Regions from separate parts of the Homo sapiens genome. Here all the other regions are linked to region 7. Evidence: promoter capture Hi-C in 16 types of primary human blood cells and fetal thymus (Javierre and others, 2016). All regions are on one chromosome and are shown on one strand. Each heading gives the region's core, a stretch centred on a gene start or on the middle of the fragment in contact. The rest is flanking DNA. Distances are from core to core; before and after follow the strand shown.

What was found. The method cuts DNA at HindIII sites, captures the fragments that hold promoters and counts their contacts. A CHiCAGO score of 5 or more calls a contact.
Region 1: a contact is called between a fragment that was not itself captured here and the fragment with the promoter of APOL6 in region 7, in 1 of 17 cell types (M0 macrophages). The highest score is 7.6, in M0 macrophages.
Region 2: a contact is called between a fragment that was not itself captured here and the fragment with the promoter of APOL6 in region 7, in 6 of 17 cell types (M2 macrophages, M1 macrophages, M0 macrophages and 3 more). The highest score is 12.5, in M2 macrophages.
Region 3: a contact is called between a fragment that was not itself captured here and the fragment with the promoter of APOL6 in region 7, in 1 of 17 cell types (M0 macrophages). The highest score is 6.2, in M0 macrophages.
Region 4: a fragment that was not itself captured here is called in contact with the fragment with the promoter of APOL6 in region 7 in 11 of 17 cell types (M1 macrophages, M0 macrophages, M2 macrophages and 8 more); the score reaches 24.9 in M1 macrophages.
Region 5: a fragment that was not itself captured here is called in contact with the fragment with the promoter of APOL6 in region 7 in 1 of 17 cell types (M0 macrophages); the score reaches 5.7 in M0 macrophages.
Region 6: a fragment that was not itself captured here is called in contact with the fragment with the promoter of APOL6 in region 7 in 4 of 17 cell types (M1 macrophages, M0 macrophages, M2 macrophages and 1 more); the score reaches 7.2 in M1 macrophages.

The regions. Positions count from the first base shown.
Region 1 is chr22:35,353,114-35,355,993 of GRCh38, reverse strand. No RefSeq gene overlaps it. Among named protein-coding and RNA genes, the nearest start is that of MIR6069, 18 kb to the right of the region's middle. RefSeq lists enhancers at 2,817-2,876, 2,820-2,880. The HindIII fragment of the contact is 2,468 bases long and covers 97-2,564 here.
Region 2 is chr22:35,937,503-35,940,691 of GRCh38, reverse strand. It overlaps RBFOX2 (RNA binding fox-1 homolog 2), which reads left to right. Exons shown (of 14, transcript NM_001349999.2): 2 at 1,795-1,845. Among named protein-coding and RNA genes, the nearest start is that of RBFOX2, 90 kb to the left of the region's middle. The HindIII fragment of the contact is 1,768 bases long and covers 530-2,297 here.
Region 3 is chr22:35,333,919-35,336,929 of GRCh38, reverse strand. It overlaps TOM1 (target of myb1 membrane trafficking protein), which reads right to left. Exons shown (of 15, transcript NM_005488.3): 11 at 2,482-2,602. MIR3909 (microRNA 3909) reads right to left here and starts at 1,290; the gene lies at 1,172-1,290. It overlaps MIR6069 (microRNA 6069), which reads left to right and starts at 131; the gene lies at 131-209. RefSeq lists an enhancer at 1-115. The HindIII fragment of the contact is 2,635 bases long and covers 11-2,645 here.
Region 4 is chr22:35,920,917-35,923,937 of GRCh38, reverse strand. The region is part of intron 2 of RBFOX2 (RNA binding fox-1 homolog 2); the gene reads left to right. Among named protein-coding and RNA genes, the nearest start is that of RBFOX2, 110 kb to the left of the region's middle. The HindIII fragment of the contact is 3,625 bases long and covers 1-3,021 here.
Region 5 is chr22:35,372,891-35,375,837 of GRCh38, reverse strand. No RefSeq gene overlaps it. Among named protein-coding and RNA genes, the nearest start is that of HMOX1, 6.7 kb to the left of the region's middle. The HindIII fragment of the contact is 1,300 bases long and covers 632-1,931 here.
Region 6 is chr22:35,962,813-35,965,854 of GRCh38, reverse strand. All of the region lies in intron 1 of RBFOX2 (RNA binding fox-1 homolog 2), which reads left to right. Among named protein-coding and RNA genes, the nearest start is that of RBFOX2, 64 kb to the left of the region's middle. The HindIII fragment of the contact is 2,415 bases long and covers 225-2,639 here.
Region 7 is chr22:35,646,552-35,649,837 of GRCh38, reverse strand. APOL6 (apolipoprotein L6) reads right to left here and starts at 1,392. Exons shown (of 3, transcript NM_030641.4): 1 at 1,215-1,392. RefSeq lists an enhancer at 1,388-1,687. The HindIII fragment of the contact is 8,876 bases long and covers 257-3,286 here.

The sequences.
Region 1 (2,880 bases), core at 81-2,580, 290 kb after region 7:
TCTGTGCTCTCAGGCCCTCTTCCAGATGGCCCGGTAGGATTCACCTCCCTCTTAAGAGCAGAGCAGTCCAGCTGTCTCCAGCTCCCTCCCCAAGCTTGCAGATCCAAAGTCCCTGTGCACAAACATGGACATGAGAGAGCTTCCTTTTCTCCAACCATTGTCTTCAACCATGCCCAGCCTCCACCAGGGTCCTTTGTGACATCTTGGGTGGTTTTGCTAACTTTCTTGTCATTTTCAAGTACAAAAAAGTCCAATCTTGGCGCAGTGGCTCACACATGTAATCCCAGCACTTTGGGAGGCCGAGGTGGGTGGATTGCTTGAGCTCAGGAGTTTCAGACCAGCCTGGCCAACATGATGAAACCCTATCTCTGCTACAAACACAAAAATTAGCCAGACATAGTGGCACACGCCTGTAATCCCAGCTACTTGGGTGGCTGAGGCAGGAGAATCACTTGAACCCAGGAGGCAGAGGCTGCAGTGAGCCGAAATAGCGCCACTACACTCCAGCGTGGGTGACAGAATGAGATCCCATCTCAAAAAAAAAAAAAAAAGTCCAGTCTTGAAGTTTAATCTCACATCGAATTTGATATCCCCTCCTCCCTCCCCTTAGCACTTCAGGAGGGTATGGCCAGCTCCTTCACTCTCCCTTCCTTGCCTCTGTCTCCTGGGTCCCTGTGTTGCAGAGTTGAGGTGAGGGGATGGGAGGGCAGAGCCATGTTTACGTGGGGACGGTGCAGAAGCCAGGGTGGCCGTCGATGGAGATGCCCAATGCGTGTGAAGGCCAAGGCTGGCAGGAGCCGTGGGGGAGCCCCTGGCCAGCAGTGAGCATGGCTATCTTCAGCTCCTGCCCTTTTGGGTTGGGGTTCTGCTCCAAACAGTGGGTGGGCCCAGAGGGGCTGGGCAAACAGAGGCTGTGCTGTTAGTTCCCTCAGATGAGGCTGCCCAGGCAACTGGAGCACTTTTGGATGGAACGAGATACTGCATTGGTGTATTAAAAGTCTGATTACTGCCGGGCGCAGTGCCTCGCACCTGTAATCCCAGCACTTTGGGAGGTCGAGGTGGGTGGATCACTTGAGGTCAGGAGCTCGAGACCAGCCTAGCCAACATGGTGAGACCCCATCTCTACTAAAAATACAAAAATTAGCCAGGCGTGGTGGCATGTGTCTGTAATCCCAGCTACTTGGGAGGCTGAGGCAGGAGAATCACTTGAACCCGGGAGGCGGAGGTTGCAGTAAGCCGATATTGCGCCACTGCACTCCAGCCTGGGGGACACAGCGGGACTCTGTCTCAAAAAAAAAAAAAAAAAAAAGTCTTGATTACTGATGCCCAAAAGGGAAAAATATTAACAACTCAATGCATTGTGGAATGTTTTGTGGCCAAAAATCAAAACAAACAAAACTCTTCTAAATCCATAGTCTTGGGGAGAGACCATGATAGAAGATTTCCTTGGGGAGAGAAGGTTTTAGAACCCACTGGCCTAGTTGGTCTCTGAGGCTGAAAGTTCTGTGGGAGCCCAGAGCACGGTGCAGGGTGCTGGGGAGGGCCTTCTGAAGACAGACTTCCCAGCTGTCCTCCATTCGCCCACCTCCTGCGGGGCAGGTGCTATGGAGGACCGGGATTCTAGTTTCAGTTCTTTTACAAATTTGCTGTGTGGCCTTGGGCAAGTCTCTGCACTGGTCTGGGCCTGAGAAGGGATCCTGAGGGAGGGCCCCATCTCAGCAGCCAGCCTTCTCCCTGCAGGGGTCCAGTGGCCTCTGCAGCCTAAGTGGCTTGCAGGGCTCAGGGCTACTCATACAGATAATGTACACAGTGACTTTTCTAGCCCCAAGGCAGACCTAGGCGCAGCCCCAGGCCCAGAATAGAGTGCACTTCATCCTGATCCCCCAGGGACCTTTTCTCCCCAGAAAAGAGGACTCAATGTTTCCACTTGCCGGCTGTGTGGCTTTGGATTAGCTAGTTGACTTTTCTGACCTCACCCCCTCCTTTGTAAAATGAAGATTCTTTTTTTTTTTTTTAATTTGTATATTTTTTGAGATGGAGTCTCACTCTTGTTGCCCAGGCTGGAGTACAGTGGCGCGATTTCGGCTCACTGCAGCCTCCGCCTCCCGGGTTCAAGCGATTCTTCTGCCTCAGCCTCCCTGGTAGCTGGGATTACAGACACCCACAACCACGCCTGGCTAATTTTTGCATTTTTAGTAGAGACAGGGTTTCGCCATGTTAGCCAGGCTGGTCTTGAACTCCTGACCTCGGGTGATCCACCCACCTCGGCCTCCCAAAGTGCTGCGATTACAGGCGTGAGCCACTGCGCCTGGCTGAAGATTCATTTTTAACAGAGCTTCCAAGGGCTCCAGTGAGGGCAGGGTCCTGTGGGGAGCATGGGCAGCACCCCCATTCCTCAGTTCACCCACTTGCTTTTCCCTTTCCTAGGGGTACCCCAGGGCAGGTGCAAGGATGTCCCCGGCTTGGGTTTCGCTTCCCTCCTGCCCCTAGGCGGTCAGCTTCCTGTGCGGGCATTCAGCAGGGTGTGTGGGTGGCCGCCTCCACCCATTGGTCCCACTGAAGCTTGGGCAGTTGTTTCCCTATCGCCGCTGGTCCTGGAGGGGAGATAAACCCGGGGTCCTGCTTCCCTCTCTTGTAGATATTTGAGTTTCTTTCCTCGTATTTCTTTCCTTTTTGGAAGGAGGATTATGGAATTTGGGGGTTGATAGGGCAGAAAAGCAGAGTGCAAAGGGGCCTTACGCTCTCTTAAATCAAGCCGATTAACAGATGGGGAAACTGAGGCCCAGAGAGAGGAGAAGGCTTGCTCCAAATCAAACAGGAAGTCAGTGTCTGTGCACCGCTGGAAGCTCGGTTGGCTGACTCCTGGGCCGTGCTTGGACC
Region 2 (3,189 bases), core at 164-2,663, 290 kb before region 7:
ATTTTGGTTTTTTTCTGCTGTTTGGTTATTATGAAATAATGCTGCTATGAACATTCATGTATATTATTTTGTGTGGACATATGTTTTCAGTTTTCTTAGTTACATACCCAGGTGTGGAATTGCTGGGTCATATAACTCTATGTTTAATAGAAGGACTATCCAACTGTTTCCAGAGCAGCTATACCATTTTACATTCCCACCCGCAGTGTAGAAGAATTCTGATTTCTCCATGTCTTTGACAATACTTATTGTTGTCTGGCATTTTGTTTATAACCATTCTGATGAGTGTGAGTTTTATCTCAATGTGGTTTTGATTTGCATAATGACTTATGATGTTGAGCATCTCTTCATGTACTTACTGGCCATTTGCACATCTCTTTTGCAGAACTGTCTGAATTCCTACACATTTTCTGGTTATTTAGCTCCATTTATTTATTACACATTCTTTTGGGTGTCTACATGTGTTAGATACTGTGCTAGATCTCAGGGAAACCATGATGAACAAGACACAGGGTCTCTGCAGTAAGCTTAAGTTGTCTTCAGACTTCCATGCTTTTGACTATCAAATATCTGAATATAGTCAACCTACCAATTAGTGGAAAGTTTACTCTATTGTTATATTCAAAAGTCCTATCAATGAAAATTTCTTTTACGCTGTTCTGCTAGTAGGAATGAAAGTACAGTGAATGGAAGAAGAGGATGAATATCTAAGTAGCAATGTTGAGCACTTTGAAAATTACAAAAGCAATGTATGTTCTCATTTACTCCTTCGTGTGCACGTGCATCTTCCCTCATTTAAAAGTTCCCTTGAAAGCAAGGGCCTTATTTTTAATTCATCTTTTTTTACTCCATCAGTCGACTAACAGTGCTTGGAAAATATTAATATTAGTATATATTAACTGAATGATTGAATGGGTCAAGTAAGCTGGAAATGAGTGTTCATGTTATATGACCTTATACTAAATTAGGGTTTGCATGGCTTTTATTAGCTATCATCCTTGCCCTCAAGGATCTTGACTTAGTGGTTTAAAGTGAAAATGAGACAGATACTCAACATGATATACCTTTAAAAAATAAGGTTAATTAGAATCATAAGTAACATAAAAAGTAAGCTGCACAAGTAAGCTAAGTAAATATTAAATATTAGGAGGAGTCACTTGAGTCCATAGGATGATATAGAGTAGTAGAGGAAGTCTTGAACAGAGGTCAGATTTCATCCAGATTTCAAAGAACTGAGGGGATAAAACAAAAAATAAATAAATAAAAAAGTAAAAACTGAGGGGAAACAGGCTGATAGAGACGAAGACCTAAAACTTTTCTGGGTTAAGAGGCAGTTCTCAGCAGGGTTGGTACTTGTCCCCTTTCCATCCAGGGGACATTTGGAAATAAACCAACAAGTTTTTGGTTATCCTAGTGTTTAGGGGTGCTAACGGCTTAGTGTGAGTTGGGGCTGGGGATGCTGAAGTCCCACAGTGTATGATGAAGTTAGGAATTAACTCTGACCCCAGTCGCAGTAGCACCCTGCCTAAGATATACTGGAAAGGAAACAGATTTAGCTGCATAAGGAAGAAATAGTTTTTATGAATAGTGCTCCTAAGCAAATACTGTTTTTTGTTTTTGCCAGTGTAGAGGCTTAACGAGGAGATATATACACTTAGGTAGGGTGGAATACAGTTAATGGAACATTTTAGGAACCAGGGCAGGAATTTATATTTGATCAGTTTGGATGATTTTGATTATGCCTAACATTTTCTTTCATCTCATGGTTTGATATTTTTCTTGTCTTTCTCATAGAACGAGCCTCTGACTCCAGGTTATCATGGATTCCCAGCGCGGGACAGCCAGGTTGGTATCTGCTGTTTGTAACTCAGATGATGTATGTGTGTGGTGTGTTTCATCAAAGGGTTGCTATGATAGAGAGCATTTCCTGAAATTACTTACTTTGAAAGGAAATGTGGCTTGTTTCAGCAGTGAATTTACTTTTACAGATGTAAATTAAGCATATTTTTAAATTCTATAAGTATTATGTTATTAAAATTGTGGATATTAGAAGAGAAAATAATCACTCAAGCACAGTCATGATTGGTTTTGTATTTTCTTCTCCAGGCTACATAATAATTTTTTGACCTGGTTTTCTTGATGCCTTATAATTCTGAATGCTGGACTTGTCTCTTTATTACCTGCCAGTTAGCCCCTGCCTGCACAGAGTTTTTGAGTCCTTGTAATGATCTGTAGCAAGAAAATTCCATTCTCCTCCCTGGGGGAATTCAGCCTTATGGTTTTAATCAGGGAAAGCTTGCCTGAGAAAGCAAAGTTTCTGCCACCTTTCTTTGTTAGATGGGAGGATGACTGGAAAAGCCCAGGCCCTATTATGGGTCAGAGCAGAATTGCTTCCTACGAGACACCCTCAGTATGGTTTAGGCAAGTGTGTAAAATGCCTTCCCTATCTTTTTGTTGTTTGAATACTTGAGCCCATGACGTTGAAACAGAGTTAGGATAGAAGAACAGGTAAGGCTTCCTCTTAGAGAAATGGTGTGGCTTAAATCACCTCGCCTCTGAAAGAAATTTGTATCTTTGATGTTTGGGGATATTGACGTTCTTCAGGAGATTTGAAAGGGTAGCTCCTAGAAATATCTTGGAATGCCATTATTCCTTACAGGGTTGTCAAAAAAAGCTACCATTGTTATACTTGTCCAGGAGATATGAGTTACAGTGCTAAACGAAAGAGTTCATAGTGTCCTTTCCAGAAGTTCATTGAATCTCATCAGAGCTCCTGAAGTGGATCTTAAAAACTAGGATGGTCGGCTGGGTGCGGTGGCTCATGCCTGTAATCCCAGTACTTTGGGAGGCCAAGGTGGGTGGATCATGAGGTCAGGAGTTTGAGACCAGCCTGGCCAACATAGTGAAACCCCGGCTCTACTAAAAATACAAAAATTAGCTGGGTGTGATGGTATGCAGTTGTAGTCCTGGCTACTCGGGAGGCTGAGGCAGGAGAATTGCTTGAACTGGGGAGGTAGAGGTTGCAGTGAGCTGAGACTACACCATTGCATTCCAGCCTGAGTGATAGAGCGAGACTTTGTCTCAAAAACAAAACATAAAACAAACAAAAACAACAACTACAAAAAAACAAAAACTAGGATGGTTGATAATCAATAGTCACCTATTTGCAGGCCTTTCAGATTTGAGAGT
Region 3 (3,011 bases), core at 79-2,578, 310 kb after region 7:
TTCCTAAGCTTAGCTCCTCGCCACCCCTGCCCACACATGGCCCTGAAGCCCAGCTGTCCCTGAAGGCCATGCCTGTGGTGGTGGAGGGCCAAGCACTTCCCTGGAGGAAGCCCGCACCTCCTGCACTGGGTGGTGACCCCTGGGCTAGGGCCTGCTGCCCCCTGCCCAGTGCAGGAGGGTGGAGGGTCACTCCTTAGGTGGTCCCAGTGGGGCTGGTGGGCAGGGGCTGCACCTGGGCCACTGGGGTGACACTTGTCTAAGTGCTCCTTGTAGAGAAGGCCTCTGTGTACAGCAGCACTGACGAAGATGCGGACAAAGCGGGGGAAGGACACCCCTGCCTTTGTGAAGGCCTAGCCGAGGCGTCTCTGCTGTGGCTCGCCCAGAAGCCCTGCTACTCCTTGGCATTGAGTGGATAGGACTGGCTGCAGGAAGGCTGTGACGGTGCCAGCTGTGGTCAAGGCTGGAGCAGAAACAGCGGCTGATAAGGAGCTGGTTTCCCTGCCAGCCAGGGCAGAGCTGGTTGCAGGCTGGTGTGAAGTGGGGAGCCAGGCAGGTACAGGGAGGAGCGGGCTGGACACCAAGCTGGCAGAAAAGGCCAGTCAGGTGACCAGAGCTGGAAGATCCACCAGAAGCATTTAAGGGGGCCAGCCAGGCAGGAGAACAAAGGGAAGACGAAATGGATGCTCAGGTCCACGCCTGACCTTGCTGGATGTTTTCTGCCAGGGTGGAAACCAAGCCCTGGGGAGGGCCTGCAGGAGAACCAATGGCCTGAGAAGGTGCATGATGTCATTTCAGCTGTGCTCAGCTGAAGGCAGTTTCAAAGATGAAAATCTGATAAGAAAAAAGATCCTTCCTGTGCTCCCTCCTGCTCATGTTAGAATAAAATCAACTGCCTCTCTGTAGCCCAGTGGGCCCCACCACCCTCTCAGCATCCTGCCCCCTTCCCTGTGTGAAGAGCATCTTTCCCAGCTGCTGTGCGGGAGCCAGGGCACCTCTCTCCCGCCCTGCCTCTGAGACTTTGCACATGCTGTTCCTAGTGCCTGAAATGGCCTTCCTATCACCCAGCACCTGGTCCAGCTCTGAGTACCCTCCGCAGAGTTGCATGCTCCCTCCTCTGTGTCCACAGAGCCTGGTGCCCCCTCCAGGACAGCACTTAGCCCTTCACAGCGGTGGTCCTGGTGCATGTCACTCTCCCATGAGACTGCAGGCCCTAGAGGACAAGTTCCTTGTGTGCTTTTCCCTGTCCCCCGGAGCCTGCTCCCCAGAGGAAGGACAGCGCAACAGCATACCTCAGCCAGGCTGGTGACCAGGGCAGGCGCCAGGGTTCTCCAGTATGGCCAGCAGTGTTGCCTGCTGGGGCCTCTGTGGATGGGCGTGTCTGGCTGCAAGTCCCATCACACTCATTAGCTTGCCTTTGCAGGGTAGCCTCGGCAGCACCCCTAACTCCATGGCAACAGCTGCTGGTCCCAGGGTACCTGGGCTTAAAAGTACAGACTCTGCCCAGACTAAAGAAAGATACAGCTAACAGCCAGGGCAGCCCTAAGGACCTAGCAGGCTACAGCCTGGACCTGGATTTGTGGGTGTGGAGAGGTTATCCCTGGGCTCTCTGGAGGCCCATTGACAAAGTTCCAAAAGACACCAGAATGACCTCTAAGGAGCTGAGTGGGGTCAGTGGGAAGATCCCATAATCTAGAACTTTCCTTAGCTATAAGAATCCTGGCTGCCCACAGCTCAGCCCTGGGGGTCACAGTGGGCAAAAGGCTGAAGAAAACATCAAGCAGACTGTTCCTCTTACAAGCCTGTACGGGGCCAGTTCTCCCGCAGGTCCCGGCAAGGGGTCAGACCCTGGTGGACACACTCAGGCCACGTGCCTATGCTGCTGAAAGTACCCCCTGAAAATGCACGGTGCACAGGGAAGGGCAGAGCCCCAGCTCTGGGGCAAGGCTGACAGAACCTGCTTAATCTTCTCTGGAAATTAACGGTGGCTATGGAACAACAGAAAAAGACTTGACTTGAAAGTCCCTGAGGATTTATCAGGAAACTTCCCTGCTCCTGGAGGGCTTACTATGCGGTACACAGTGCAGGGAGGGGGGCGGGGGGTGGAGACACTGTGTTTTGGAACCAGACAGCCCTAGGCTCCTAACCTAGTGCTGCCAAATATTAGCTCCTTGACCTGGGGCAAATGAGCCTGCCCCTCTCTGTGCCTCAGTTTCCCCCTCTGATCAGACTATGTAAGATTCTGGCATACAGTGGGTCATTAGGCTCCCCCTCCCCCACCCAGCATGGCCTGTGGGGAGCGCAGTCTGTCAACTGACCACAGGGCTCCCAGGCCATGCTGGACTGACTTAGGGGATACTAAGGGCGTGCTTACTAAGCAGGGTCCGTGTGCCCTTCCTCATGGTGTGCCACCATAAAACCGGGTTCCAGAACCCCGAGAGCCACCCGAACTGCAGGGGACCAGGGCAGGGCCAGGCCACTCACTCTTTCCGTTGGTCAGCCAGTGAGCTGCCCCGTGTCAGCGCAAACATGTCAAACTCATCTTCCAGTCGACCAGAGGCCTCCAGAGACTGCAGGCCAGCTCTCACACTGCTGGAGCCCAGGTCTGCAGGGACAGAAAGGCCACGTGAAAGACCCATCCACAAGCTTGTGTGTGAGCTGCTGCTGAGCTACCTGCTGCCAGACCCAGGGCTTGGTGCTGGGGAAGTGGCACGTGTGGGTGGGGGAATGCGCGAGGCAGGCCACCTGCTGCTGGCTGTGGGGCCTTGGGCAAGCGGCTTCCTCTTCCCAGCTTTAGTTTACTCACCCCTCTTGGGGCTGCTGTGAGCGTTAGAGAACAGTCAAAACGCTATCCATTGATTCTGCTGGGGAAGTGGCTGGGCAGGAGGACAGTAATCAGATGGGTAGTCGATTTTTTCAAAAAGTATAGCATTAGTGATGCAAAATGGGGTGCTAATGATTTCCTAGGGCTTGGCATGAAGCAGACAGTAAATTATATTAAAACCTATCACAGT
Region 4 (3,021 bases), core at 174-2,673, 270 kb before region 7:
CTTGCATGCTTAATTTTTCTTTGCTCAGCAGCAAACATTATGTTCCCCACTTGCTTCCCACTTGCTTCCCTATTTACTAAGGGGTGATAGTTATGTGTTATGTATCTATAGTCCTGTATAGTTTACAGGTATTGCTGTAATACCTGTAATGGGTATTGCTTTCATACCCATTCTCATTTGATCTTTGGTAAGACCCCAGTGAGTCTTTATTATTTGGGTGGGGGGGAAGGGTTTTAATCTCCATTGGCAGATGAGGAAATCAAGATTTGCAGTTTCCTGAGAGATTTGCCAAGGGTGGTAATAAGTGGCATAAAATTGGCTTTTTAAAAAAAACCAATTCCTTGGCCACAATTTATTAAAAAGGCAAATGGAATGGTCCTCCTAGAAAAGATTTGGAAGTTAGCCAGATGTGGTGGTGTGCACCTGTAGTCTCAGCTACTCTAGAGGCTGAGGCAAGAGGATGGCCTGAACCTAGGAGTTCGAGGCTTCAGTGAGCTGACTGTGCCAGTGCACTCCAGCCTGGGCGACAAAAGACCCTATCTCTAAAACAATATGGAAGTGTAAGAAGTTGGGGAAATAAAAGGAAAAAGAAAAAAGAAAAAAAAGATATGAAAGGCCTGGAGCCCTTTCCCCCATAAGGCTCTGCTGACTGGAAGACAGTTTGAAAACCAGTGAGGAATGATCAAAGAACTCTGGTGTCAGACAGACCTGAGTTCAAATTCCAGTTTGGACTGATACTTAACTTCCCTTAGGCTTACTTCCTCATTTGTAAGATGGGATGCTTTTATAGGATTGCTGATAAGTATTAGCCAAAAAACATGCCAGAAATCTATCACAGTACCTTCAGCTTCTGTGGATGCAAGGGGAGTGTGTTAGGCAGTGTAGGCTGACCCCTCACCACGTGCAGGACTCACACTAAATGTTGGGGGAAGTCATTGCTAAGACAGAGCCATAGGACTTCAAACCCAGCACTTCATACCTGACTGAAGGTTCAGGTGTCACATTTATCAATAGTTTAAAACAGGAGGGGGCAAACTTTCTGTAAAGCATCTGAGAGCATCTGGGCCATATGGTCTCTGTTAGAGCTACTCAGGAACTCTGGCACGGTAGCAGGGAAGCAGGCTTAGATTATAGTAAACAAAAGATTGTGGCTCTATTCTAGTAAAACTTTATTTGTGGGTACCGAAATTTTAATTTCATATAATTTTTATATGTCATGAAATGTCATTTTTCTTTTGATTTTTTCTTTCAATCATTACAAGATGTAAAAGCTATCTTAGCTGGTAGTCTGTGTGTGGGTTCTACAAAAACAAGTAGCCCATAGACCAAAGTCCTGATTTAGACATGTCTAGTTTTTTTTTTTTTTGAAATGGAGTCTAGCTCTGTCACCCAGTCTGGAGTGCAGTGGCGCAATCTTGGCTGACTGCAACCTCTGCCTCCCAGGTTCAAGCAATTCTTCTGCCTCAGCCTTCTGACTAGCTGGAAAATTAGCCACCATGCCCGGCTAATTTTTGTATTTTTAGTAGAGATGGGGTTTCACTATGTTGGTCAGGCTGGCCTCGAACTCCTGACCTCGTGATCTGCCCGCGATGGCCTCCCAAAGTGCTGGGATTACAGGCATGAGCCACCATGCCCGGCCTTATCAGTATTCTTAATACCAACAGAGTTTCACATTGTATTTGACACTATTTACAAACTCAGTTTATTCCCTCTGTGTGAATACTAGCCATTTCTAAAATGAAATGCAATTGTGATTTAAATTTCACATATCATTATGCTAAATGCTGTTCACTTTTTGTTCCATGGTCCTGAAACAATTAACCTGTTTGGAGATAAGCTGCAGATACAAGCACACAGAGAAGGGGACTTAGGAAAGCTGGAGGAAGGAAAGGTCTGTCTTGCCTACATATGGGCTTAGGAAAATTTTCTAACTGGAAACCTTGCCTCAAGTCTGAGTCACACTAGTGGGACTCTTGGCCCTAGGGTGGGAGGAGAAAAGGGAGGGAAGGAAGTGGCTATGTCAGTTTTTGTCAACAGAGGGCACCCAGAGCAAAGCAAGTGTTCTGTGACACAACAGAATCTGCCCCTCTGCCCCAGATGAATTTACCAGACAGGCACAGAACTTCTTGCAGTGGATTCTCTTGTCCATCTCTTCATTTGTCTGATCTGTGTCTGCATTCTCATGTTTTCTCCCATGCTGGAACCAGAATATTCTAAATGCAGTGTTAATAATTGTTATTTGCTGACTGCTTTAAGTGGAAGACCAATTCCCTCAATGTGCTGGGGTGAATTATCCCATGTTGTAAGGTTGGCCTTTTGGGTGGATGTGCAGTATTAGCTTCTAATTTAATTCAGTATCCAGTGAGCATGTATTCCTGAAATACTTTTGATGTGAAAGAGCACTTCATACCTGTATAACATGTTGTAAGAAGACTTTGTAAGTCTTATTGCCTAGAGCAGTATCCTCAAAGTGTGGCTTCAAATCCAGCCGCATCAGCATCACCTGGGAACTTACCTTTATTCATGGTCTCTGCCTCTTCCCCAGACTTACTGAATCAGAAACTCTGAGGATGGGGTCCAGTAATCTGTTTTAACATGCTTTGGTAATTCTTATACACACTCAACTTGAGAACCACTGTCATAGGGTAAAGGAGTGGAAGAGTTAAGGGCACTGGTATTTATGGAAGACTATGTGCCAAGTACTTGGCTAGGAGTTTCCTCTTCATTTTCCACATGAGAACAGCAAGCCTTAAAAGCATTAAGTGATTTGCCAAAGTCGTACATAGAATAAGTGGTAGAATAGGGATTTGAACCCTGGTTTTTCTGACTCCTGAGCCATACTATAGTGGCTGGTAAGAAAATGCTAAGAGGCGTTGCAATCTTTAAATTAATTCTTTTTTAAAAGTCCTTAAAATATTTTTTTAAAACAAAAGTAATTTGCATTCATTGAAGAAAATTTAGAATATACAGCAGATCAAAAGAATAGAATAAAATCTGCCTTAATATATTTAACTTTATCTT
Region 5 (2,947 bases), core at 32-2,531, 270 kb after region 7:
GTCCTGACTGTGAGCTCCTTGAAGTCAGCAAGGGCCATGTCAGATTCACCTTCTTATGCCCTTAGCACAAGCCAGGCTTTCACTACATATTTAATCAACGAGGCTTAGCAAGCAGGGTGAAATTCCCTGCCTAATATCACACAGCTCACCCGGGATTTGAGGCCAAGTGTGTCTGGCTCACTCAGATTCCACAGCATCGCTGCCCTAGGAGCCCCTGGGCCCGAGGCAGCAAAGGGCATAGAATGGCAACATCTTTTCCAAACATCGTGCAGCCTCTATTAGCACGTACCCAGTGACCGAAGACCCACAGCCAGACAAGAAGGCATTCTAGCCTTTGAAGGATGCAGACTACCAGGCCAGTCTTGCCAAAATGGAGCCTGACTATACCTCCCAGATCTGGTATGCCCTGGTTCAACCTGATCAAGGTACCATTAGGATAGTATAGACTAGCTAAAGCAATAAACTCTAGGCAAAAGGACTGCAGTCAAATCCAGGATCCATGACTTCCCATCTGTGTACACTGGAACACCCTAAGCTTTTATTTCCTCATCTGACAAAATGAGGAATAATAACAGCATTGACTCAAGGGGATGTGGTGAGCATGAAATCAGTTTGATGCATGTAAGAAGCTTACAGTGAGGCTTGGCAGAGGAGGCACACGGTAAATGTTAACCGTTATGTTGGTCAGAGAGGCATCCAGCTCCCCTTTCATGATTCAGCCAGAGCCTTTTTCCTATCTAGAAATTTCTGGATGATTCTGCAGTAGGGCGGGGGTCACTAACATCCAACAAACCTTGATTTCAGTCAGGAGTTTTGAATCTCAGGTTCTTCATATTTACCTTTTTTTTTTTTAGATGGAATTTCGCTCTTGTTGCCCAGGCTGGAGTGCAATGGCACTATCTCGGCTCATTGCAACCTCTGCCTCCTGGGTTCAAGCGATTCTCCTCCCTCAGCCTCTGAGTAGTTGGGATTACAGGCATGCACCACCATGCCCAGCTAATTTGTACATTTTTAGTAGAGATAGGGTTTCACCATGTTGGCCAGGCTGGTCTCGAACTCCTGACCTTAGGTGATCCACCTGCCTTGGCCTCCCAAAGTGCTGAGATTACAGGCGTGAGCCACTGCGCTCGGCCTGTATTTACCTTTTCCTCAAAAAGTAAACTTCTCCGAAATAATTTCAAATGTCCAGAAAAGTCGCAAGCATAGTACAGAGAATTTCTATACACCTTCATCCAGATTCACCAGTTGTTAGCATTTTGTCACATTTGCTTTATCGTATTCTCTCTTGATATACTATGCATATATATTTTTGAATATATACAGATATATATATCTCCTCCTGCCTCCATCTCCTGAGTATCTAGGACTATAGGCTCATGCCGCCACACCTGGATAATTTTTTTCATTTTTAGTAGAGATGGGGTCTTGCTATTTTGCCCAGGCTGGACTCCAACTCCTGACGTCAGGGGCAGTCCTTCTGCCTTGGTGTCTCAGAGTGCTGGGATTACAGGTGTGAGCCACCATGCCTATCTACCCCCAAATTATTTAGCATGTATTATATCTGGAGTGCAGTCCCTGACATATGGTTATAAAAATCAGGAAATCTGGCTTCGATATAAATTCATTATATTGTAGAGGAGGCAAAATTTTACCTATACCCTTTTAGAGTTTTCTGCTGGGCCTGAGAATTAAACTGACATGAGACAGATTAGTAGGAGAAAAGCATACACATTTATTTAACGTACATTTACATAACACGTGAGCCGTCCTAAGGAAAAGAAGACTCAAGGAAACAGAGCCAAACACTTACATGCAGATTTGGACACAGAGTAGTAAACTGTGAAAACGTGACAAGGCAAAGTGGCGTGGGTGTGGGTTAGGGTGGTTAACTGGGTAGAGAAGAGACTAGGAAGAGCTGGCTTTAACAAGCTTTGTTTGTACAGATTTATTTTGGCTTCAACTTCCTGCCATGGATGAAAGGAATGCTAATTTTCTCCTCGTATAGAGAAAAGTCTTCCATATGGAATTTCATCTCTTGCTTTCAGGAAGAAAAAAAGAAGGTCAGAGGCTCACTGCAACCTCTGCCTCCCAGGTTCACGCAATTCTCCTACCTCAGCCTCCCTAGTAGCTGGGATTACAGGCATGCGCCACCACGCCCGGATAATTTTGTATTTTTAGTAGAGATGAGGTTTCTCCAAGTTGGTCAGGCTGGTCTCGAACTCCTGACCTCAGGTGGTCTGCCTGCCTTTGCCTCCCAAAGTGCTGGGATGACAGGCCTGAGCGACCATGCCCAACCCACAGCAACCTTTTTGCACCTGATTTTGTTTGTTTGTTTTTAAAGTGCCTTTATCCCAAAATAATCCTTTTTTTTGAGACAGAGTCTCACTCTGTTTCCCAGGCTGGAGTGTAGTGGTCTGCAACCTCAATCTCCTGGGCTCAAGCAATCCTCCTGCCTCAGCCTCCCAAGTAGCTGGGATTATAGACATGCACCACCATGCCTGGCAAATTTTTTATATTTTGTATTTTTTGTAGAGACAAGGTTTCACCACGTTGCCCAAGCTGGTCTGGAACTCCTGAGCTCAAGCAATCCCCCCACAGTGGCCTCCCCAAGTGCTGGGATTACAGGCATGTGCCACCACGCCTGGCCAGCTCAAAATAATCCTTAATCAATGAATGGGGAGTGGTGGCACACACCTGTAATCGCAGCTACTTGGGAGGCTGAGGCACGAGAATCGCTTGAACCTAGGAGGCAGAGGTTGCAGTGAGCCGAGATTGTGCCACTGCACTGCAGCTTGGGTGACAGAGACCCTGTCTCAAAATAATAATAATAATAATAATAATGATCCTTAATCCAAAGTGGCACATTTTGGGTGGCATATCCTGAACTCCTTCAATATAAAGCCTATATTCAAATGTCCCCTATTGCCCCAATAACCTCCTCTTTAGC
Region 6 (3,042 bases), core at 183-2,682, 320 kb before region 7:
TTCTGTGATTGCTACAGCTGATAGATAGCTTTCCCTTCATACACATACTGATCCTTTTCCTGTCGAGCTTGTAGGATGTGAGTGTGCACATACATTTTTGTGTTTATGTGTTGGGGTGTTATGTGGGGATGAAGGTGCTTTTTAAAGTTAATGTAAATTTGCTTGTCAGATATTCAACATGCTGTTTCAAACAGCCACAGGAAAGTAGAATTGATGAATAAGCTTCATTGACCACTTTTTAAACTAATTCTCCAAGAATAAGAAGGACATTTTCATTCTACCTAATAAGGCAGCAGATTTGGATTTTGCTCTGCAGACAAAAGAACCTCTTCATTGAGGGTCTCAGCCACTAACAGCTTCATTTTCAGAAGGATGTACCTCATTTTGGCCATTATTCTTATCATGGAGACTATGAGGAGAACAAATCTCCATAATATTAATTTTTTTCCCCCCTTTTACTCTGTGGAAATCTAACTCAAAGTAAGGCATTTTAGGAAAACCTAATTTGGGTTAGGTAGAAAATCTAAAAGATGTTGCCTTGCCTTCTCTTAGCTGGTCATATCTCTCAATTCTGAACCTGGCCTTAGTAAAATTCTTCAAAGTTCAAGTTTGTTATGTTGTCTTATGACCATCCCTTTGTAAATCTTTGTTCTCCCTCCATGGAATGCTCTTACCTTCCTCATTTACTTAAATGAACTCCTGCTCATTCTCCATGGCATCTTCTAAAAGTAGCCTTTCCTTCTGTGTGCTGTCACCATACCTATATACACCTTGGCTATATTGAATACCACGCATAGCTCTATTTATTTGTTCTTTGGGGCCAGCCTTTTGAGATTATCGACTGGTGTGTGGTAAGTATTCAGTAAGTATTGGAAGAAAGAATGGATGATTGAAAATATTATTTGAAAGACAATAACTATTTTCTAAAGAATAAAATCTGATTATAATATTTGACATCAGTAGATACATTTTTTTTCCAGAAAAGGTGATTGTTTGCCTTAATTTCCGAGTAAAAAAGGATATATGTTTACAACAGGGTGTATGTTGTGGCTGTAGGAGAGAATGATGCTAACTGGTTCACATGGGTAGCAGACACGTGACCTTGGCCTCTTTAGCATGGTCCTCTAATCAGCTGATTTAATTTTAGTGGAATCCCTGAAGAAATGCTCTGGTTCTATATGTGGAATGTAGAAATCATAAATCTAATGTATAGATCCTGACTGCATTAGGGTTTGTGGATTAAAACCAACAAATAGACTGTGTAGGTATTATGACATTATAACTGGGCCAGTGTAGGCATTATGACAGTGATAATTTTTTTCATCTCAAATATTATGAAATTAATTCCAGAATGTTATCTGAAGTTTTGTCATTTCATTTCAGCATGTAATTTCTCAAGCCAATTTTAATTTAAAAAGATCTGAGTAGAATCATTGCCGTTTGTCCAGAAGTTTAGAATAATAGGATTAGAATAATAAATTAATAAGTATTGAGTGCCTACTTAGAGTTTAATACTGTTAGTAATACATAAAAAGTATGACTTTGACCTTGATGTCAAGTGTCCTATATTTTATCGATGGCATAAGAGAACACAGATGTAAAATGATTTCTAGATGTTTTTTTCCAACCCTCACTATCTGAAAATAGGAAGCTAAGTGGAAAAATGCACAGGCTTTGGAATCCAAACAGATCTGGGTTAGAATCCTGGCTTTTTAAAAAAAATGAAATAATGAGTATATAACCATGGTCACCTTGACATCACTGGAACTCTGTTTCTGTGTTTGCAAAGTGGAGTAAGAATGTATACTAGGCAGGGCATAGTGGCTCACACCTGTAATCCCAGCACTTTGGAAGGCCGAGGTGTGGAAATCGACTGAGGTCAGGAGTTCGAGACCAGCCTGGCCAATATGGTGTAACCCCATCTGTACTAAAAATACAAAAATTACCCAGGCCCGGTGGCGCTTGCCTGTAATCCCAGCTACTCAGGAGGCTGAGGCAGGAGAATTGCTTGAATCCGGGAGGCAGAGGTTGCAGTGAGCTGAGATGGCACGACCGCACTCCAGCCTGGGCGACAGAGTGAGACTCCATTGCAAAAACAACAACAACAACAACAAAAAGAATATATACTAGTGTTGGTGTTTTTATTTTTTTGAAATAGCGATGACACATATAAAACTCTTGGAACGTAATAAGTGCTCTTAATGTACGTTTGAGTCAAAGAGTAGATAAATGGAGCTTTGTTTTGCAACTTTCCACTTAGTCTAGGCCATTGCTGATAGATTTCTTCATAATAAGTCAAGTTTAGTAATTGAGTTGATGGGCACTCTCAGAAACTGCTTTAGTCTCCCTCTTGTAGAATAAGGTGACTGTGCTTATTATACTTAATAATTATTAGTGCTTTTAATACTAATTAATTATTAGTGCTTATCATACTTAATACTTAGCCAGTGGAACCATGGTGTCCATAGGAATGCTTTCACACAAGGAATGGCTTGTTAAGGTCAACAAGGAGCGAAATAAGAAAACAAATATCTCAGAGATGGGCTAATCATATTGTCCCCCACCCCGCACTGCAATGTGGGTTTCAGTTGTTAGCATGTGCTTCATCCTTTGCTGTTTTCCACAACAGTTATAAAGCTTTTTCTAGATGCCTGTGTGTTAACTAGAGGCATCTTGACTCTTTTGACTTCTCTAATTGTTCTAAATTGTTTAAGTTTTCTGTGGGGTAGATGACTGTTATTATACTAAATTATTCTTCTTTCCTGTCTTTTTTTTTTTTTTTTTTTTTTTTTTTTGCTGGAGAGTTGGTGCCCTGGAGTTGAGTCTCTGCTTTGCAAACTGAAAATACAATTTTCCTGTGTGTGCCTTATTTTTTTCATTCCTTTTCTCCCTTTCCTACTACAAGGCTCTGACCTGCTTGGAGCCCTTATTACTTGGTCACAATTGATACTTTGTCCTTCAGAGTCACATAGGACATAGCCACTGCGTTGATTCAGTGCTCAGCTATCAAATATGGCTCTGAGAAGGAATTACTTCTCTAGA
Region 7 (3,286 bases), core at 143-2,642:
CACCTGGTTGAACATGACAAGGTTGCTGGGGGTAAGAGACTCTGGTCTGGAACCCCATTTTTTACCAGCGTCCGCCAATACCTCTCTCATTTTTTTACATTAGTCCTATGGGATGCAGGGCAAAGGTAACAGCAGGAAACTCATCTAAGCAGGTCCCATTCCATCCCCTCTGACCTGCTCTTGGTGGTTGCGAGAGGATTTGCTTGTGAGAGGTTTATTGGAAGAGGATTTGAGAACTTACTTTCATTTGAAAGCTTACAGGATATTTATGACAGTCTTTCCTTACCTGCCTTCCCCCACAAAACCAACTTCTGCAGATACACAATCTAAGTAAGAAAAATCTGCTTACTTTGAAAACACAGCTTCAAGATAACCTCCCTAGATTTTTTTTTTTTTTTTTGAGACCGGGTCTCACTCTGTTGCCCAGGCTGGAGTGCAGTGGTGCGATCACTGCTCACTGCATTCTTGACTTCCTGGGTTCAAGTGATCCTTCCACCTCAGCACCCTCCCAAGTAGCTGGGACTACAGGTGTGCACCATCACGCCCAGCTATTTTTTGATTTTTTGTAGAGACGGGGTCTCACTATGTTGCCCATGCTGGTCTCAAACTCTTGGGCTCAAGCAATCCGCTTGCCTTAGCCTCCCAAAATGCTGGGATTACAGGCATGAGCCACTGCGCCTGGCCTAGTCGCCCTAATATTTATCACAAACTCCCTCACCCTCTTCCCCAAACAACTTCACATAAATCTACAATCTAGAAAACTCTGTAGGTTGGCTTTGCAGTTTCTAGACAACTCACCCAGCACCTTTTTTCTTGTGAGATGACACCCCTAAACCACTCCTCTACTGAATTTCTAGGGAAACGCCTGTGGCTGATGTAATCATCTGCTTTCTAAGGGCCAGGTCCCCTCTGCCTAAGCCCTCGGATCCCCAGCAGTGGAGGGACAAATGCAACTTGGCTAGTCACATCGCATGCTTTAGCATGTTTCAATTTAACCCTGAAATGGCTGTAAGGGAGGGAAACCTACCAGGATTAACACAGGAGAAGTTAATCCTCAGACTCTCCTCAAGCTCTGGCTGGCATTTGAACCCCGCTGCTTTCACAGCAGCTCTTTTCCCTGAGTCAGGTGCCTAAAGCCAACCCCTTGGGGGCTCTGTCCTTCAGGGACCAGAGCGGCAGCCCCCTCCTCCCCCGACTTCTGCCCGCCGTCTCACCTTCTCTCCACGGAGCTCTCCTTTGTGGCCTTGGGTCCCGAGGGAGAGGAAGATCCTGAACCTCTGTCCTTGCCTCTCCGAGGTCCCCTGGTCTGGCAGGGGGCTGTGAGTGTCTGGGCTGGAGAAAGACGGATAGGAAGAGTAGGGTGGCCTTTGAACAGGAATTGATTGCAAAACTGGTTTCGGTTAAGTGCTGCAGGAGAGAAAAAGCAAAGCTCTAGGGCTCTTCCAGGAAATCATGGGCTCCAGCTGTCACTTTCAGTTTCCTTTTTGCCAGTTTCTCTAATTGGATGAACAAGGAGGTGAAAGAGCAGAATCCAAGTCAGGAGGCCTGAGTCTCTCGTCTCTGTCCTGGCTGTGTTATAGGATGGACCTATATGGGGTATGAAAATAGCTCCTGTGGCTTAGAGCTATGGTGAGGAGCCCATGAGCAAGCGATGGGGCGCCTGTTGAATAGTGGATTCACAGTAGCTGTCATCACTGATTGTTCTGAAACTGCTTTCCTCCACAGCATCTTACGTGACGCTGATGTGGGTAACAACCCTATGAGGTGCACAGCATTAAAGGGCTAATAACTCTGAATGCAGAATCCTCTGAAAATGGAAACTTTATTTTATTATTATTATTATTATTGTTTTTTGAGATGAAGTCTCGCTCTGTTGCCCAGGCTGGAGTGCAATGGCACGATCTCGGCTCACTGCAACCTCCGCCTCCTACGTTCAAGCTATTCCCCTGTCTCAGCCTCCCTAGTAGCTGAGATTACAGGCACCTGCCACCACGCCCGGCTGATTTTTGTATTTTTAGTAGAGATGGGGTTTTGCCATGTTGGCCAGGCTGGTCTCAAACTGCTGACCTCAAATGATCCATCCATCTAGGCCTCCCAAAGTGCTGGGATTACAGGCGTGAGCCACCGCACCTGGCCTCAGAATGAAAACTTAAAAAAAAATGATAATTTATTCATTTAGTGGCAAAACCTGACCTGATCTGGCATGAATTCACCTGTGGTTTTTATGTCTCCTGCTTAATTTGAATATTTACAGTCACTGCAGAAATATTAATATGTTTGACTGAGGAGGGCTGCTGCGGGTGCGTGGGTTACATAGTACACGATACCTGCACCCCATTACCTTTCTAAAAATCCCCCAAATCAGGAACTCTGACATGCATCTGGCCTCAAGGATTGGAGATATAGGATTGTGATACTCTGTCTCCCACTTTAAGGAAGAGGAAACCCAGGCTTCTAGAAGTTGTGGGTTGTTTGTGATTACACAGCTAAGAACCAGTCCTAGGCTCTGTGTCTACAAGAATGAGCCCACAGTGAGGTTACGGGCTGAGATCTGTGTCTCTCTAGCATTTGTGTCAAATTGTGATCAGAAGCCATGTGGTTTGTTTGTATTTATATGCCCAGAAGTCCCCAGTCACCACCCCTAGCTGAGACCACATTGGAGGCTGTTGCTTTGCAGAAGGTGCGGCCCACCTAGCCAGTCCTGGCTTTGCTGTGATAGAGGCCACCTCCTGTCCCTGGGCCCTACGAGCAGGAATGAGGGGTTAAGGGCTGCTGAGTTGGGTCTTGTAGGGGCCTTTCCAACCGTGGCATCCCGGATTCCACAACCCACCCCTGCTCCTGGCCTCCCACACTTGGGGAACACGCTAAACACAGCCTGACCTTGAGGAGGACTTGGCTGCCTGGCTGGGGCCGCTGAGCCATCCCAGGCCTGCCTGTTGTTTTCCCTGGCAACGGACCCAGATGTTGTGGTCACTGCTCGGTCCTGGGAGTCTCAGGGGCCAGACCGGCCATTGGATGGGGGCAGTGTTTACCACCAGGGCTCTTGTGAAACAATCGCCCCAAGAGATGCCATGTGAGAAAAATGTTCTGTAGCCAAATGCAGGAAGTGCTGCTTATGTAAGGGGACAGAAAACATCCACCCTATAGCTCAGATGAACAAAAGTAGGGAGTCGCTTAATTTCCTAGAGTCCACTTCCCTTCCCTCAAGGGACCCAAGACCTGCTGAAAAGAAACAAACTTGCCTGAAGGCCCCTTAGTCTCTTGTGATTTAAAACACACTCTCGGA